Linked DNA regions of Homo sapiens: region 2 is linked to region 1. The links are contacts of gene promoters, found by promoter capture Hi-C in human tissues and cell types (Jung and others, 2019). All regions are on one chromosome and are shown on one strand. The core of a region is centred on a gene start or on the middle of the fragment in contact, and the rest is flanking DNA. Distances in the headings are between cores, read along the strand shown.

The links. Contacts are between HindIII fragments. The study calls those that stand out against the background at their distance.
Region 2: a contact is called between a fragment that was not itself captured here and the fragment with the promoter of POU3F3 in region 1, in 3 of the 25 tissues and cell types used here (neural progenitor cells, small bowel and thymus).

Annotation. Positions count from the first base shown.
Region 1 is chr2:104,851,143-104,856,016 of GRCh38, reverse strand. POU3F3 (POU class 3 homeobox 3) reads right to left here and starts at 1,902. Exons shown (of 1, transcript NM_006236.3): 1 at 1-1,902. The coding sequence starts at 506. PANTR1 (POU3F3 adjacent non-coding transcript 1) reads left to right here and starts at 4,541. Exons shown (of 4, transcript NR_037883.1): 1 at 4,541-4,705. RefSeq lists an enhancer at 1,709-2,298 and a silencer at 3,507-3,556. The HindIII fragment of the contact is 12,067 bases long and covers 1-4,874 here.
Region 2 is chr2:104,932,409-104,937,282 of GRCh38, reverse strand. It overlaps MRPS9-AS2 (MRPS9 antisense RNA 2), which reads left to right. Exons shown (of 3, transcript NR_110603.1): 3 at 518-1,042. Among named protein-coding and RNA genes, the nearest start is that of DALIR, 27 kb to the right of the region's middle. The HindIII fragment of the contact is 5,964 bases long and covers 1-4,874 here.

The DNA of each region.
Region 1 (4,874 bases), core at 653-3,152:
GGCCCGCGGTGGTGCAGCGCTGTGCCCGCGTGCAGGTCGTCGCGCCCGGCGCCGCCCTTCACGTCGGGGCCCTGCGGCGGTGGCGGCGGCGGCTGCGGTGGCTGCTGGGGGCTGCCAGCCATGCCCACGGCGCTGCCCGACCACGGCGAGCTCGCCTCCACGGCGGCGGCGGCGGCAGCGGCGGCGGCGGCGGCGGCGTGGGGCAGGGCTGTGACCCACTGGTGCGCGTGGCTCAGCATATGGCCGCCGTTGCTGGCGGCCATGGCCCCCTGCATGAAGTCGCTCTGGACCATCTTGACAGAGGACGGGTCCCCCCGGTAGGCGCCCGAGGTCACGGCGGCGCTGCCCGGCTGCATGCCGCCGCCCCCGCCCCCTGCGCCGCCCCCGCCGCCGCCGCCGCCGCCACCCCCGCCGCCGCCAGCCCCTGCCGCGTCCGAGTGCACAATAGAGCCGGCCGCGAGCAGGCTGTTCCCCGGCAGGTAGGGGTTAGAAGCCGCCGTGGCCATGCCGCTCCGCTCCCGCCACCCCACCGCCGCCACCACCGCCGCCGCCGCCGCAGCAGCAGCCGCGGCCGCCGCCGCCGCCGCCGCCGCCGCGCCCCCCGCCTCCCGCCTCCTCCCCCCCTCCTTCCCCGCCCCCGCCCCGGGCCCCCGCCGGCCCCGCCGCCTTCGCCGCCTCCTCCTCCGCCGCCGCCTCCGCCCCCGCCGCCGCCGCCGCCGCCGCGGCCCCCGGCTGCAGCTGCAAGGCCGCTCGGCAGGGCGCGGGGGTCGCCGGCCGGCCTTGGTCACCAGCAGCAGCAGCAGCCGCAGGAGCAGCGCTCTGGGGAGGGGGGCTCGCTTCTCGGGGTGCGCTCCGTGGCCACCCCCTTCAGGGGGGGTCGTGGCCGCCCCCCAGCCCCGGCGCGCTGGGCTCGCTCCAGCGGGGCTCGCCGGGCGGGGCGGGGACCTGCACTCGGGGCGCTCTCCCGGGACGCGCGGGCTCCCGCTCCTCCTCCTGTCCTCGGGCGAGCCCGGACTCTGCCCGGTCGCGGGGCTCCGTCCACCTGCTAAGTGAAGGTTTCACGGGAGATAACAAAGAAAGAAGCTGCTCCTTTCTTCCTTAGCCAAATTACGGATGACCAGCAACCGGCCCGCTCCTTCTCTTGTCCGCTCTCTCCTCTCCTCTCCTCTCCTCCTCAGGAACACATTTCACTCGTTTTCCCTTAGAGTAGTAAAACTTTTTCGTCCTTGAAGGCGTGGTGCTGCTGGCTGCTCGCGAGTGCGGAGAGGGGAGGCTGGCTCCTGCTCTCCCCCTCTGGTCCTCTCGTTTCAAGTTTTGTTCTGTCCTAGGAAAACTTCTTGCGATGGTGCATTTCTCTGAAGTTGCTATTGCCGGAGCTCTTGGTTGCCTCTGAAACAAGAGTCCTTTTTCATTCTCCTCGCAACAGTCACAGTCTGATGCGACATCTTTCCTTTTGGGCAGAAATTAGGAAACAAATATAACAAGGAAAAAATTGAACAGGAAAAAAAATGATGTCGAATCGCTCTGTTACCTTGTTGCTGACGGTTGGGGTTGGTGTTTTATTTTTTTCCCAGCAGTTGTCTGGAGAAGGAGGAGGAAGAAGAGTGCATTGGTGGAGGTGGAGGTGTGTGTGTGCATATAGGGGATCGATCCTTGATACACAACAACTCCAGTGGGCACGCTGCACGGCTCGTAGAGTGCACCGACGGCGGGCGCTGGCGCTGGCCGTGCTGGAGCAGAGTTGCAGCAGGAGCTCGCTCTGCGCCCTCGTTCGCGCTCTCTTTCCCTCTCTCACTTTTCCTCTCCCTCCCTCTCTCTCTCTCCCTCTCTCGGGCGCCCGCTCTCGCTCCGATCTGACAGTTCGCTCTCTGTCCCTCCCTCTCAGAGCGGGGACTGTCGAATGTTTACCCTCCGCCGCGAGCGCGCACCCACCACCACACTTTCCCAAATACAAGGAAGTCGAGCACCAGGGCCCCCGCTGATTGGCTACCCGCTGGGTGATTGGCAGGCTCGGAATGACTGGCTCAGGACGCGAGGCCCCCCTTCCGGCCGTTCCGATTGGTTGCTTTTTAATTTAGGCAGAGCGTCGTAGAAGCTGGAAATCTGTCGTCCTCCAGCCTCCCTCCCCCTCACCACTTTCCCCTCCCCGCCCCTCCCCCGCCGCCCCCTCCGCCACATCTTAACTCTTAGTGTCCGGCCCAGACGTTGGCGTTCCCTCGGCGGCTCTGGGCGTTCGCAATAGGTCTGGGCGGGGGGAAGAAAGGGGAGATAAAAGGGAGGGAGGGACGAGAGGGGGGAAGAGAATCAGAAGGAAAACGAAGGGGGAAACATGAAAAATAGCAACCTGCCCACCCCACCTAGTACGCGTCGGGTTGCTCACCCCCTTACCCCCGCCCCGCCAGAGATTTGTAAAGCGCGCGGCACGGATGTACCATTCAAGCTAATACCTATAGACAGATGTGTCCCCAGTGGTTTCAAAGTTTCCTCTTCCCTTCACCAGCCGGCCCCCTTCTCTGATCGGCGGGGGTGGGAAGCGGGGGCTCGCATCGCCAAGAGCTCTGGTCGTGGCCACGCTCCTTGGAAATCCGCCACCGCAACTTTCCGCAGCCGTTGCGCGCCGGCGGCAGCCCCCTTTGTTTAAGTTCTCGGATGCCATCATCTGGGAAACCTGCAGCCCAGGACCAGCGCGGTGCCCGCGCGTGCGAGACGGACCGCTCGCTGCCGCCGCTCCCTGGCTCCTCCACCCCCTCTCTCCCTCCTTCGCTCTCCCTCCCTTCCTCCCTCCTCCCTCCTCTGGGATTCGTGCAAGTAGCGTGCGTGCCCTTGTGAGTTTGGAGGGTGCCGGTCAGCGGAGCCGTGCGATGTATTTGAAAAGCAATCAGTCCGACCTTCCCCCATAGATTCATCGTAAGTGTATTCGACCCCAATGGCTTTAGGAATTCCCTGTGGCAGCAGGAGCCGGGCGAAAGAACCGGGATCGGCTAGCCGCGCCCTTCTCTGCTCCACCGCTTCCTCGTGTGTGTGTGTGTGTGTGTGTGTGTGTGTGTGTGTGATTAGCGGTGGGGGGGTTTGCTCGCTCTCTATTCTTAGGCATGGTGGTGCTTTTTTTTCTTTCCTTTCTGTCTCAGATGGATTTGCGTGGTGGATGGGGCTGGCGGCGACAAATGCTTTCTCAGCTCTAACCCAGCTGAAAGAGTTAAGGGGGATGGGAGGGGGAGTGCACCCGGTAGGCGAGAGAAGCGGGGGTGGGGTGGGGTGGGGTGGGGGGACGCGGCCAAGCGGAAACGCTGCACAGAGGAACCTCAGCGAACCAAGAAAAAAGAGAAAGTGGCAACGAAAACAAGGGCAAATTGAGCCCTCCTCGGGGATTTCCAATGAACTAACCCAACTCGGACATTCAATAAATACATGGCTCTTAATGAGCGTGCGTGTGCGTGCACCCCGCACCCCTAGCTGCGGGTGCGCCCGCTTGCGCCCGCCGCCCCCAGCCAGAGCCTGCATCTGGCAGTCCCGAGCCCGAGCGGCAGCCCAGGACGCAGCCGAGGAGCGGCCGCCGGTGCGCTCCGATTAAAATGTGAACGGGCCTGCCCTTCTCTCCCGCTGTATCGTGCCTCTGCCGAGCGCAGTTAAGTGAACTCAGTGAAAGCAGGAGTTCTCCTGCCCAGCCGCAGCCAGGCAGCCCCCGCGTGATCTCAAGATTAACACTAGACGCGTAGAATTTATGTAGGCTCTTGTCCAGCTCCTGCTTGCCGGGTGAGATACCATCGTAGGTAGGTTTTAGCAAAGCCATTATTGCCAAGGTATAGATACCAAAGGCGGTGGTAACCAAACCCCAAACAGAACGGATTTTTTTCCTCTGCGGCCCCCAAAGGTTGCTTTTTATATTTACGTATGCGTATATGTATATATAAAAGATGGAACACAGATTTCATTGAATCAATCTGAGATCTCCAGGTGCAGACGTTTGAATAGTCGGTGCCAGCACCCCGTGTTTTCCTTTCCTGCCGATTTTGCTTGGATCCGGCTCAAAAACCGAGAGAGTCTCGTGGTTTTGTTTACACTGAATGGGGAGGATAGGAACAGAGCCATGGGGCCGCCTTTCATTAATATACAGTGAGGATTTTGTCTAAATTACTGCTATGAATTTCACAGTACACGCTTTCAAAAGCAGTCTCAGGTGGCCTGATGAAACGTGATAGCGCCTCTGCAAACAGATCCACTTTCTTTCTTTTCAAGAGGGTGTGTGTGCGCGTATGGGAAGCCCCCCAAAACGTTGTGCTCCTCGATAACAGAAACACACTTCTGTTCCGAGGTCTGTCCCCTTCTTCCTCCCCCCCTTTCGTCGTACTTAATTCTCGAATCGCTCCCCGGCCTCTCTCCCCCCTCCACGCTGCCCCACCCCATCCGCCCCCTCCCTTTGCGAGTGTGATTGTTTTGTCTGGAAAAAAAAAATCCAAAGTATATAACAAGGGGAGAACAGTTAGTGCTGATTTTCATTTGCATACATTTTCATATATTTTGGTGAAAATAATAGACTAGTGGAGAGCTGGGCTTCGAGGCGTCAGTGTGAAGGGAAGGCTAAGGACGCATCGGTGCTGGAGAGTTGAGAATATGCCTTCCCCTCCACCCCCAACCCAGTCACCTTATTTGAAAAAAAATTAAAAAACACCTTTTATTTAAAAACCTAACCCTGGAAGTTTGCTCGGTAAGTGTTTTTTCATTTTCTTTCCCTGCTTTCCTCTTCTTTTTCCCCTCCTTTTTGGCTTATTTATTTATGTTCTTGTAGGTTTGGGAGCTTATTTTCATTGCTTGGGACAAGAGAGGGTTCACAGAGCAACTGTCTGAAGGAAGGAAGGAAGGGAAGATGTGTTGGG
Region 2 (4,874 bases), core at 793-3,292, 81 kb before region 1:
TTTTTTCTCCCCTAGTTAAGGATAACTCTAAAAATATTGTGTATACCCACCTATGGTTTCCTGAGGACTTTCCTCCCTGTCTGCTAAAAAGCAAAAGTTAGGAAATTATGTCTGATTTGTGTCAAATGTGTTCCAAAGAATCATGAGGCCTTCCTTTCACTGTGAGGAATATTCATGTAGGAAGTCGTCCTCTAAGCAGTTGTCACCTTTTCTTACATGGTATTCCCAACTGCAATGCCAGGCAGTGAGGGCTTTGCCGCAGTAGGAGCGGCTCCAGTTCCTGGGTGAGCCCAGGGCCTGCCCAGACGTCGGCCATCTCTGCAGGTGTATGGGCTGCGGCCCTAGGCAAGACTGTCTCTGCCTTCCCCAAAGGTCTCTGAGCCCTTCTGCGGCCCAGATGGTTCCAATTTGAGGCCTACATTCAGTGCTGGAGCTGTATTGAGTTTCTTCCCTGAAACCAACAAAACCTGCTTCAGCATTTTGCTTGGATTAAAATATTTGTCCCTTTTTTTCACAGGGCAGAAGGAGAACTCCTGAAGCCTCCGAAGGAAGGAAATCATTACAGGGCCCTACAGAAGTAGGTCATGTGCTACAGCTGCTCATAGTTTAAGAGGAAGAAACATGGGATCTCAAACCTGGAACACGACTCTTTCAAAATGCTTGTGAGCAACCCAAGAAAAACATCCTCCTGAGGCTTATCTAATAACCATGATCTCTAATCGTCTCAATGTGTGCTCATGTTTCCTTAGGAGTTTGCACCCACTTCTCAGAGCTAACGAGATGCCGAAACAGAACACAGAAAAAAGTAATGAAGGAGATTTAATAGTTTGTGTTAAAGCTAATATGGTCCATTAGGGGCTGTCATTTTTATAAACAGTGAGGATACGTTACCCTCTTCTTTGGTGTAAAGTCATTCCGTGCAGGACCTGTAAACATTCAGTAATGATCTGTAGAACATGCATGAACGACAATTAAAGCACCACTTGAAAAGTCTGTTTTCCTCACATATTTGTTTTCTTGCTAAATAAACTTGTAAAGTTCATACATGTGTACGCATATGCTTACATTATAAAAAAAGTGTGCATTTCATTAAGAACATCTACGAACAGATATAAGTGTTTTTGGTTCCCATTAGCTTGAGAAATATCAGAAGTGATTAGTTAAATGAGGAGCATAGGTTCTGTTTTTTAGTGCATACTATAATAATAAAACAACCACTCTTTTATGGTAGCTTAGCAAGACAAAATTATAGTTCACAATGTCATGAAAGGCATGATTACAACCTTTGAAAGTTACAAGTAAAAAAGCTTCTATAAAACCTATCTGTTGCCAAAAAATTATGTTCTACAGTGATTCAGATATATTTCTGAAATTTATTTTTTAATTGTGGCTGATACCAAGCAGAGGCAAGACTTGAGAACTTGCATTCTTTTTGAGACTCACTGAATGTACTTGAGAAAATAAAATCAGATTGACTCCCTCTGACTTTGTAAATAGAGTTTGCTCCCTTGCTTTCTCTCTCTCTTTGAAAGGACAAATGATTCCTTTTTATAGGTTTTAGGTTTGGCAGAATTTGATTAAAAAAAAATTCTTACAACCACCTAACATTTTCTGCTGCAAACAGGAGTGGGTAGGTAGTAGGGGATAAAGAAAGGTCCAGATTAAAATTATTCTAGTTATTCACATAGACTTGAAAACTCCAGTGATGAGTTTTGAGAAGTAGCCTTAGGCAGAACTTGCTATCAAAGAAGGCCAGGAACAAAAGACATTTAAAAGCAGATTACGAGTCTCTCCTAACAAAGCAAAATCAAATCACTGATCAATAAGTGCAGCTGGGTTAAAATTGTTTCCTTAAAAAGGCTTTAAAAACTTTTTTGAGTGATAAGCTGGAGGCTGACCCTTTTATGCTTTTCAGCAAACTCCTCCTGGAAAAGTCTTTCCCATCTCTTCCAGGGCGGCCTCTTTTGGGATGAGTCTCTCTCTTCTCACTTAACACAAGCAGGCCTTTGGCTGGAAAAGGCTGGCAATGTGGTTTCCAAGAAAAGGAAAGATGCTCTTTGATCTAACTCAAGCCCTCTAAGAGAGTTTAGCTACTAGTCCCAACAGCATAGCTGGATTCCCCATGGTCATCTATGAACTATTTGTGCAATGCCCAAGCTGGAATTACCATTAATGGTGTAAAATCAACTTGAAACCTAAAGAAAATCTTCAACAAAGAAAAGCCCCACACTCCAGGTCACTTAAGCCACAAAAATGTGCTGGGTAGGTTGTGGCTCGCTGTCTAGATCAAGGCCATGTGGACGACGTTGAGGCGTACCTCCCATCGTCAGACGTTAACTCAGATGCCGGCTCTTTCAGTGACTGATTTCAAACAGGGCTTTTAAAAACAAGGGAAGAGGGAAAAAAAAGAAAATCAATGAGCAAGTGGTGTTCAATTTATTCACATATGTTCCAAATGGCACAGAGATAAGCAAAAAGGGTTCTGGTACATTTTTTAATGATTTCATTATCACTAGACAAGAATGGAAAGATCATCCAGATGCTATTGAAAAGATAGAAAAAGAAGATTTAAAAAAAATAAGAATAATATCTTGAATGGTTCCCTGCCCGGATACCTAAACAGTGAAGGCCGACCAATGAGATCTTTGAAGTTAGGTCTATTTGCAAGTCCATTTATTTAAAAAGGAAGGTTGAGATGATGTAGAAAAAAAAAAAGAAAACTTTTAGAAAAATTTGTTCTTGGCCTGGCTGTCCTTTTCTCTGTGTGAGCATCGTTTGCCTGGGGTGGATTGTCATTTGAGCCAGTGATTAAGCAGGGAGGGAGAGTGAAGCAAAGCTACAGTCCCCTTCGGTGGAGCAGGGGCTTGGCCAGTGCCCTTCCTGGGAAGCCTGTATCACACACAGCACACGTGGAGGATGAGGATTATTCCCATTGCAAGGGCTGCCGCTTGAGTCACAGATCTGCCCCTTTTCTTCTCTTGGCTGCTCCTTGTCCATCCATAATAGCGATCTTTGTGTGTCGAATTCTGCACTATTGCAAAGCGCCCTGGCCACTGGGTCTGAAGAAAGCTTTCTCCCTTTTCTGGAGGCTCTCTGAAAAGTGAGCACTCTCCATTGCTTATGTGGAAATGCTTGGCCACCTAAAAAGTGAGTTTATGGTCTCTTTTTAGTTTTATAAAATTATTATTATTTATTGTTAGCTTTTTTAGAGACAGGGTCTCACTCTGTTGCCCAGGTTGGATGCAGAGTGCAGCAGCCTCGAACACCTGGGTTCAAGCTGTCCCCCCGCCTTGGCCTCCCAAGTAGCTGGTACTGCAGCGGCATGCCACGCCCTGCTAAGGTTTATGATCTCTTTATGGGTGTATGTGTGTGTTATGTTTCTAAGTAGATTGTAAGCTTCCTGAAGGTGGGGGCCACAGTCTTCCTGATCAGGTCTATGACCTCCTAATTGTTCAGCAGAAGTTGGTCTGTTGCTGGGTGCATGATAATGAAACAGAATAGACCATGCCCAGGAATGTGCGTATAGGTGCAATTCTTAATCAAGGACGCAAAGCGTGTTTGGCATGACTCAAAGTAATGCCAAAAGTATTGCTCAAAGCAGCGTCTACCTATGGAATGATCAAAACAACGCCTCTTCAGAAAGACAGCATGCCTTTTACAGCACCACAGTTCCCCTTGAATTTTCTTCCCAAAATCCACTGAGAGTGTGGGGACTTGGATTCCTCCATCCCCCGATTCTCCTGATTCACTATCACACTGTCCCTGGACTTTATTAGGGTAAAACTTTCCAGTATCTGGAAAAGAAGTAAAACCCTCATTTCTCCGAAAGCACTGGAGTTGTGTATGCAGGATGGATCATTTTCATTTATGTTTGGTATGATCGTTATTTCAGCTGCTTCATGTCTGCCAGGCCTTACACATGTTGTTTGTTTCATGGCCAAAATAGTATGTGACCTATCTTGAAACCCCAAGAAAATTTCTCTAGCAACAGCCTTGTTTTCTGACATTGTAAATCATCTCTCCTTCCACACAATTTTGCATGGCCATCACAAAAATAAATGTGGATATCTGAATTTTGTAGTTGAAGACGTTAAGTGGGTACTTGTAAATTAGATTCTCCAAGTCCCAACAACATCTATTTATTGTTTTGCTTATCATTCTTTAACTTTTACCAAAGGGACCTCCTATTGCTTACAACAAAATAGCAACAAACACAATATCTAGAAGTGTGTTTAGTCCAGCTAAGGGCTGATCTAGGGCTGCCCGTGCAATCAAAACCTCTGCCTTAGCTCTCCGTGTGTCTTGAAAGGTAAAGCTTTCACCCGCTAACTCTCTCGGTTCACGAATATGTCGCTGGGGTTTTTTTTTTTTTCATATGGTAAAAATCATATTGGAAACAGGCAAATTAATCTCTTTAATTCAAAATCATTTACCTAGTACCCACTATGTGCAACACCAGTGACAGAAAAGCTACACATAAAAGCACATCAGTTGGAGATATGGTCGTGTTCAGCATCTTGTTCATGTAAATAATTGGAAACACAGTCAGTTCGTCCCACTCCCATAACTGAGGTGCTGTTTCCCTTAATGGTTCCCTACGTGTTCAAAGACAGATCATCCCTGGATTACTGCAGTTTTAGACAACACACTAACATTCACTAATAGGGGAATGGAAATTAAAAATGTAAATAAGTGCTTGGGTTCCCCACCCCCAAATAGGTCAGATAACTGCTTATTTTCCTCTAAATTAATGTGCTTTGAGGTTCTGTAGGCAGAGGCTAAACACCTATTACGAATATTATCATATGTCTCGTTTTTACTAATCTTTGGTTTGGGTGACTGGATTTAAGTGATGTAAGCAAGAAGATACGGAA